2 separate regions of the Homo sapiens genome follow, and region 1 is linked to region 2. Evidence: promoter capture Hi-C in 16 types of primary human blood cells and fetal thymus (Javierre and others, 2016). All regions are on one chromosome and are shown on one strand. The core of a region is centred on a gene start or on the middle of the fragment in contact, and the rest is flanking DNA. Distances in the headings are between cores, read along the strand shown. Region 1 has its middle 30 kb from the start of LINC01252. Region 2 holds the start of GPR19 (G protein-coupled receptor 19).

Evidence for each region. Contacts are between HindIII fragments. The CHiCAGO score rates a contact against its expected background, and 5 or more counts as called.
Region 1: a fragment that was not itself captured here is called in contact with the fragment with the promoter of GPR19 in region 2 in 2 of 17 cell types (endothelial precursors and M2 macrophages); the score reaches 5.8 in endothelial precursors.

The regions. Positions count from the first base shown.
Region 1 is chr12:11,575,409-11,579,981 of GRCh38, forward strand. No RefSeq gene overlaps it. Among named protein-coding and RNA genes, the nearest start is that of LINC01252, 30 kb to the left of the region's middle. RefSeq lists an enhancer at 3,461-3,660. The HindIII fragment of the contact is 1,043 bases long and covers 1,338-2,380 here.
Region 2 is chr12:12,693,208-12,697,432 of GRCh38, forward strand. It overlaps GPR19 (G protein-coupled receptor 19), which reads right to left and starts at 2,976. Exons shown (of 4, transcript NM_006143.3): 1 at 2,858-2,976; 2 at 2,252-2,304. RefSeq lists enhancers at 2,724-2,883, 3,064-3,143. The HindIII fragment of the contact is 8,608 bases long and covers 1-4,225 here.

The sequences.
Region 1 (4,573 bases), core at 609-3,108, 1.1 Mb before region 2:
AAATCCTCTTCATTCTTACATTCTCTTATAATTGACAAAGTATTGAAATACTTAGTGATGCTCTACTGCTACTACAATAGCTAGATAGACCTTTTGTTCCATCATTAGTTGATTCCCCTCCATTCTGGGCCTGTTTTCATTAAGTTTTCCTTATATAATATGAGGAAACTGTGAAGCATGATTTCTCAATCTCATTATCAGCACTCTTGACATCTGGGGCTGTAAAATTCTTTGTTATGTAGGGCTGCCCTGTGCATCATAGCATCTCTGATCTCTGCCCACTAGATGCCAGTACCACTCCCCCAACTTCTAGTGTGACAACCAAAAATGTCTCCAGACATTGCCAAATGTCCCCAGGGAGTGAGGGGTAAAATTACCCTCAAACCCCAAATAAAAACCACTGTTGTAAAGAAAACTTAAATGTTATAATGTATATAAAGGGGACTCACAAACTATGCAGTTTAGGAATTATTATATTTTTAATGTTTTTTGTCAATGTGTTGTAGAAGAATATGAGATGAAATATAGGCAAAGAGTGAAAGGTGGTCCTTAGAGTGTATTCCAGTTTACTGTCTGTATGGAAGTTGCCTTATGAGAAAAGGCAGACAATCTCTAAGGATGCCTTAAAAGAGGTTTCTGTAGCTAGTCATGTAACAGTTAAGTTGGCCATGGTACCCACATCATGATTACCTTACAGCTTATTCCTTGGGCAGGGGACTAGCCCCTTTGCTGCTTGCTATAAGAGGTGCTGAGCCTTTAACCCTAGGTTCCCCGCATGTGGCACAACCCACTGTGTGAGTAGCTGCCCATTACCACCCCATGGGACTTTGGGACAGGAGAACCAGAATTACCATGCTGATGTTCCCACTGTGTGCTGTGCTGTCTTGCTTGAGTCTCTTTGTCTATTTTCACACCTCCAAAGTGGCAGCAAGCCAACCTGGTTACTGGCTTAGTCATCTCCTTGGCCTTCTTGTTACTCTTCACCATTCTCTATGAGGGAGGAGTTTCCCCTGATACTGGGTTAAGTTACTTCACTTCCCTTTGTCTTTGTTTCCACATTTTAAAATGGGGATAATAATGATAGTACTTAAATCTTAGTGTTGTTGTGAGGATCATTCAAGCTAATGTAATAGCCTGATAGGTAATTATGTCCAAACTAATGCCATGTTGCTTAGTTCTATTTTCTCCTATATGTCCCTGTGTTAGTCTGTTCCCACATTACTGTAAAGAAATACCTGAGACAGGGCAACTTATAAAGAAAAGAGGTTTAATTGGCTCATGGGTTTGCAGACTGTACAGGAAGCATAGCAGCTTCTGGTTCTGGGGAGGCCTCAGGAAGCTTCCAATCATAGTGGAAGGCAAAAGGGAGTAGGAGTCTCACATGGCAGGAGCAGGAGCAAGAGAGAGTAAGATGGGAGGTTTTACACTTAAATGATCTGATCTCATGAGAACTCACTCACTCACTATTGTGAGGACAGTACTAAGAGGGATGGTGCTACACCATTCGTGAGAAATCCACCTCCACAATCCTATCACTTCCCACCAGTCCCACCTCCAACATTGGGGATTACAATTTGATATGAGATTTGGGTGGGGACAAATATCCAAACTATATCAGTTCCTACCTTCTTAGATTGCCTACTAAACTCCAAATCCTACCTTTCTTTCACAGTGAAATTTACTTTTCTTTGTCATAGACTACATTTCCATTTCACAGTGCACATCATCTCACCATCTTTCTTGCTTTCTCTCTCCCTCAGTCTCCTCTACTCATTAACCTCCATCCTCCTTTGCCGGACAGATTCCTCCCTTTGTCTTTGGTGCAGTTGTTTGCAGACCAAATTTGTTGTAACACGCCCCTAGTATTTCAGTTTTTACTTCAAGGTGATTAAAAGATTTTCATCTAGTCAAGTCCCTCCTACCAATGAAATTCTTGTTAATAAAAGTTTCTTTATCACCTCACATAATTCATTGTTCAATGAATATTTTTGTTCCTATAGTGGGTTAATATTTTGATATTCAACTATGTGATTTTTCTTAATTCCTCTTACTTATCTTTTCTTTCCCCACCATTCAAGGAGTGTTAGGGTTTTAGAAATACAGATACAAAGATGATACAGAGAGAACAATTAAATCTTTAACCTGAAGCTCTTGAGAATAATTCTGTAAAGTCCATAGCAGAGAAAAAGGTCTTAAAAGTCATTGCTTTCCATTATTAGAGCCAGAGACTTAGAGAAACATGTTATTTAAATCCCCAAAGTCAGACTTTAAATATCCAAAGCCAGTCCCCCAGAGGGCCAAGTACATAATATTTATACTAAAACCACGGAAAGAAATATGTGATGTCCTAAGAACCATGTCCTGCTCAGAAGAAGATCAAAGCTTGACCAGCAGGCAGGAAGGTGGGGATTAATGAAGGATGTGCTAAGGGTTCCACCGCTAGTGGGACCCAGTGTTATCACTTCCTCCCCCAAGGGCAACCCTTTGCAGAGAGGCATAATAAGCTCAGATGCATGCATGTGTGGCATTCCGTAGCAAAAAGAACTATTACCTGCCTTTCCAGACAACCCAAGCAACTGTAACCCTCACAGAGGACCCCTGAATCCACCTGGGCAGTAGAACAGTGATGATGAGGGCTGGGACTGTTAACATCAGTTCTTTGGTATGTGGTATTGGAAGGAGGTGGAGCAATGAGTAATTTTTTGTTTGTATGCTCCAAGACTGTTTGGCTTGAAAAAAAGGGTATGATCTAGTCATGCAATATTTTTTAAACAATAAAATAAAAATGTGAAAAGAAAAAAAAAGTGGATGTGAGAAGGGAAAAAAAATCTCGTAAGCTTAGCAGTAAGTTTCAAAAGAAACTCTCTAAAATTTTTATTTAAAAATTAATATTGGTTAGATGCAGTGGCTCACACCTGTAATTCCAACACTTTGGGAGGCTGAGGTAAGAGGATTGCTTGAGACCAGGAGTTTGGGACCAGCCTGGGCAACATAGCAAGACCCTTGTCACTACAAAAAATTAAAAATTAGATAAGCATGGGAGTGCACATCTGTAGTCCCAGCTACTCAGGAGGCTGACTAGGATGACTTGAGCCCAGGAGGTTGAGGTTGCAGTGAGCCATGATTGAACCACTGCACTCCAGACTGGGTGACAGAGCGAGAACCTGTCTCTAAAAAATAAATAAAAATGAATCTCATTTTGAATAATCAGACTTTCACTTCTCTCTTTTCATCTCTTAACTCTGCACCTCTGATTAAAGTGATGAAATTGAGTAAAATGAGAAGAAAAAGGGAGCTTCTTAAAATAAGCCACATTGTGGAATAAACTCAAGAATTAAGATCTGATCTTGCTAGGTTTTGAGTCTTAATTTTCAAGGACCACTTTCAGTTGTGGTTGTGGGAGTTGATCCCCTTTTCTCAACTAATGCCCGTTAACCTGGAAATTTCTCTATTCCTTCATTCTCTTCTGTCCCCACCCCGAAACCACACCCCACATCTCTTTCTATTCCCCATACCATGCACATTCACATGCCCAGAACTTCTTATCTTCTTGTCTTTACCCTAATTTCTTTTTCTTTCTTTCTTTTTTTTTCGAGAAAGAGTCTCACTCTGTAGCCCAGGCTGGAGTATGCAGTGGCTGATCTCAGCTCACTGCAACCTCCACCTCCTAGGTTCAAGCGATTCTCCCACCTCAGCCTCCAGAGTAGCTGGGACTACAGGCGTGTGCTACCACGCCCGGCTACTTTTTGTATTTTTAGTAGAAACTGAGTTTCACCATGTTGGCCAAGCTGGTCTCAAACTCCTGACCTCAAGTGATCTGCTCACCTCGGGCTCCAAAAGTGCTGGCATTACAGGTATGAGCCACCGCGCCCAGCCTTTCCCCTAATTTCTTATTATCCCCTACCTCTAGGCTTCCCCATTCCCCTTTCTCAAGATCTTCTTTTATCCTCAAGACCACATGAGACATCATAACTTCATTGTGAGAGGCATTAATCTACTGGATGGAGCACATGTGGGGAGTATCTGGGGTCTATACCAATTTCCATAGTAACCTTTTTCAGGGAAATCACTTCATCCTTAAAAAATGGGATAAAGGAAAGAAATAAGGCTAACCACCCTGGGCTACATCCAAGAACAGTGCAGAGATATGGAGGGTTCCAGGCTGTGTGAAAGACGGTTCATAACTGCTACTAATTGTAGCTAGGAAAGAGAGGAAAGGAGAACACGAATTAGAGCCTGAGAATGGAGAGAGAGCTGAAGGAGTTGATGGCATGATTTGTCAAGCTAAAGGAAGAAAGAAAATGAGTCAAGAAACAGAAGGTCACAGAAGAAATTCAGCAATTAATTTGTTTAATACTGTGCCATTCCACCCTTCTTCTCCCAGTTCAGTGCACAATCCCTGAGCTCAGGATATGCCCTTGAAGTTTCAAAGTCAGGAAGGATAAGCTGGGGTTTCTGAAGAGGAGAGTTTTGGGGGCGGGGGCCTACTAGATATAAAGAAATATGTGTGCCTACTTTAGTACATTTTCCATTACATGATTTGAGTGAGGGTAAAAAGCATAAAATTAAGCAT
Region 2 (4,225 bases), core at 1,726-4,225:
TCTGTTAATAATAACAAAACCACTTGTGTGGTCAGAGCTGCCACATCAACCCTGATAGGCTACCGGAAAACACTTCATTATCAATGCCCTGCTGCACATGCATTCCCATGTACAGCAGCCTCTCATTGGAAAAGAACACACATTTCAATCATGCCTTGATGCCCTCCCCAACCAATGAGGTATTGCAGGTTGTAAAGATCCGCCCCAACCCACTACTGCCATCAGCCCTGCTGATGGCCCAAGATTCACCATGTGTAATGCAATAAAGACATCATTATCTGTGTTGCCTGTGCTAGATCAAAAGACCAGCTTGGGAGACTGACACTCTTCTATCTCTACAGCTAAGCCTGTGTATCCTGGCAATTATACTAATGGCTTTATCAATGACCTTTCCCAAATTAGTACGTTAACCCCATTCTTATCACAGTGGCCTTCCTCCTGAATAGAGCTCATGATGCCCTACTTATCTGCCTGTCTCAAGCTCTAAACTTCATTCCTCCAAACGTGTTTTCCAAAACGGAGTCTTGCTCTATCACCTAGGCTGGAGTGCAGTGGCACGATCTCGGCTGACCGCAACCTCTGCCTCCTGGGTTTAAGCAATTCTCCTGCCTCAGCCTCCGGAGTAGTTGGGATTACAAGCGCGTGCCACCACACCCAGCTAATTTTTGTATTTTTAGTAGAGATGGGGTTTCACCATGTTGGCCAGGCTGGTCTCAAGCTCCTGACCTCGTGATCCCCCCGCCTCCGCCTCCCAAAGTGCTGGGATTACAGACGTGAGCCACCGTGCCTGGCCCTAGAGGGAACTCTTAAAGCAGTGGCTCTCAACCTTTGTTGCAAAATGGAGGGTTTTAAGAAAGTACTGATGTCTGGGCTCCACTCGCAGAGATTCTGATTTAATTGGTATAGAGAAAAGCCAGGGCATTAGGATTTTTTTAAGCTCCCAAGGTGATTCTAATGTGTGGGCATGGTAGAGTACCTGTCTTTTTTTTTTTTTTTTTTTTTTTTTTTTGAGACGGAGTCTCGCTCTGTCGCCCAGGCTGGAGTGCAGTGGCGTGATCTCGGTTCACTGCAAGCTCTGCCTCCCGGGTTCACGCCATTCTCCTGCCTCAGCCTCTGGAGTAGCTGGGTCTACAGGTGCCCACCACCACGCCCGGCTAATTTTTTGTATTTTTTTTTTTTTAGTAGAGACGGGGTTTCACCGTATTTGCCAGGATGGTCTCGATCTCCTGACGTTGTGATCCGACCGCCTCAGCCTCCCAAAGTGCTGAGATTACAGGCGTGAGCTACCGCGCCTGACCCGGTAGAGTACCTGTCTTAAAGCTCCCTAAATACAGACGGACCTACGATGCACAGAGCATCCACAATTCAACTGATAGGTGGCATGTACTTTACACTAAGTTCTATGCTACCTCATTTTGTCATTACAATAATCCTATGGCACAGGCACTATTATCCTTATTTTATAAATTGAGAAACTGAGATTCAGACAGGACACACAGAGTGACTGGCAGACCCTAAAGTCAAAGCCCAGGTCTGATTCCCAATTGTACACACTTTATATGACATCATATCGAGATGTCATGCCTCTCAGAGCTGGATGATCCCACTCCCTAAAACAAGACACCCAGGCTTCAACCCTGAAATCCTATTCCATTGCCTCCATGGATTTTTCCTGCAGCATTTTCCTATGCACTTCACACATACAGCGCAGCTGCCAGGATATACTTTAGGCTGCCAAAATGAAATGAAGTCACTTTCTTGGTAAGTGATTACCATGCCTGGCTCTTTACTGAAGTACTTCCATTCTATATATTCACACTGGGATCCTTCTCCATCACTGCTAGCTTCAATCCTGTGGCTTTCCATATTTAGTTTTTCTTACAGATGAAGTGATACTCTTTACCTATCAGCCATTCCTTTGTTGGAGTAAAATTACGTATTCCATCAGCATTCTTCTGCCTTGTACTCCAGATAGTATACAAAGAATCAAATTATAGTAGCTAAGTGGCATAGAATTGCTGCCGATATCAAGATGGACTCTAATATCTAGTGAACTGGGAGGCTAGAGGCTAGAAGTATGTACTTCTGTAAGGTGTCAGTGACACATCTGAGTAATGTGGTAGCTAAATGCCACCATTTCATTCCATGAAATCCACATTTCATTCTGGCTAAAGGGTAAAGCTGGTGAGAGGTGGGAGGGGCCAGGAGGCTCCATCGGAAGGAGGCAGACACTTCAGGTGTTGGGTGGTACCTTTAAGATGTTGCGGGGCCAAATCCAATGCCGGTGCAGGTGTCCCATATATCCTGAGAGACAAAAAGAGGTCAGATTGGTCAGATCCCTCGAGACAGTTCCCAAATTCCTGACTTCTGTTACCGCGACTGTTCTTCGCAATTCCACCTCGGCCTGTGTTCAGGACTGTGGCTTTTAGAATCTTCCTCATTCCATTCCATTAGGGGCGTCCCGATTTCCACCTTATATACACCATGTACTAAATGCATGCCATTTCTGCCTGTTTACAAACATGCATAAGTTCACACTCTTTTAAGAAAAATGTCCTCTACTGTCAACTTCTTTCTAGTCTGGCCTCCCAGGTAGGCTACAGAGCTACTGCCTTCATTTATCTCTCAAATCTTCCCATCTTCTCCTTCCCACTGTATTACCTTAGCTCACACTCACATCCTCTTGGTCACCAGCCAAAAAATAAATAAAACTCCTTTGTCCCTTCAGATTTCTCTCTTATTCTACAACCTCATTAATCGGCTCTCCCGCTCCCACTCCTTTACTACTTCAGTCGCTGAAACCTCCCCTCACAGAGTTCACGGCCAATATAAAAACGGAAAGAAGGGATGACCATACGAGCTTGTGGACTTTTGCCTGCAAAATCTCATAGAATGTGGTGTTGTGTACGTGAATCCATCAGATCAACGCGACGGACACTCCCCAAGGGCCAAATCGGACCGCCTCTCACTAGGCGGAAAGTTTTGAAACTTTTGCGCGCTAAAAATGATGAGCCAGACGCATGCGCAAACGTGCACTCCCGGGGTGGCGCTTCTCCTCAGGCAGATCTCGCGTGGTTTGGTGATGGCCGGCTAGTATGAAGGTTTTCCGTGGCGTTGAGATCCCACCCGCCCTTTTTTTTTTTTTTTTTTTTTTTTTTTTTTTTTTTTGCTGCCCCAGTGGATTAGGATTAGTGCTGCAGTCAAATGAAAAAGATCAAGACAAAAAATTAGGCTAATATAACTAGCCGACAGGCTAGCGGCATTTCTCTGGGGCCGAGGAATTCCACGAAGAAGATCTCTGCGAGGCCCAGAAGGCCGCACAACTACTTCTTCAGAAACAAAATTTTTTAAAAAAGTAAAAATAGAGGAAGTCAGCCAGTTTATCACCTTGGAACCAGCGTTTTGTTTGGCTTTTCCGCTTTTCACTCTACGAAAAAGCCCATTGGCGGCTACCCAGGTTACCGTCCTGTTGCCATTGCGCCTGCGCGGCGGTTTGTTTACCAGTCCAGGCGAAGCGCTGTGTCGCGGTTCTCGCCGCCCCGAGCGCCTTGGTTTGCTCCCTTGACGTGTAATTCGTAATGAAAGTCATGTTTTCATTTGGGAACACGGATCGGAGGTTTAAAACTGGACAGTTTAAGTGTCAACTTCAGACCAAAGAAAATAATGGTAGGGAAAACACTGGACACTCAGAAATCGGTGCCGCGTCAGAGCTGTCACGGAAGATGTTTCTAATGAACCTGAGGAAAACAATAGCACCACCCTAACCAGAACTAAAAAGTGGCAAGCAGCCACAGTTAATGAAACTCATAGGTGGCATTTAGTTACTTATTTAGAATGTAGGCCTAGTTATGGTAAAAATGCAAATAAGACCAAACCTAAGGTCCTCTTGCTCGAGCAAACCTCAAGCAAAACCTACATGATTTAAGACTGACTCTTGAAGCGAAGTAAAAAAAAAAAAAAAAAAAAAAAAGCAGCCATGCAAAATTTGAAACTTGGAGACGACTCTAGAAGCATTAACCCAAGAAAGCACAAGCCAACAAACAAATTTTTGAAATGGTTTGAAGAGCTCTTCAAAGTCAGTTTCAGGTGGCTTAGAAGAGGATGTTGCTTATAAAATGAGATCTGATGGAAACTTGTTTTACAGATATGACTGGATTCGTTTGAAAACAAAAAAAAAGGCAGGCAAAGTGACTTTTTAAAAAGTATTTTTATGGAAGGATTTCTA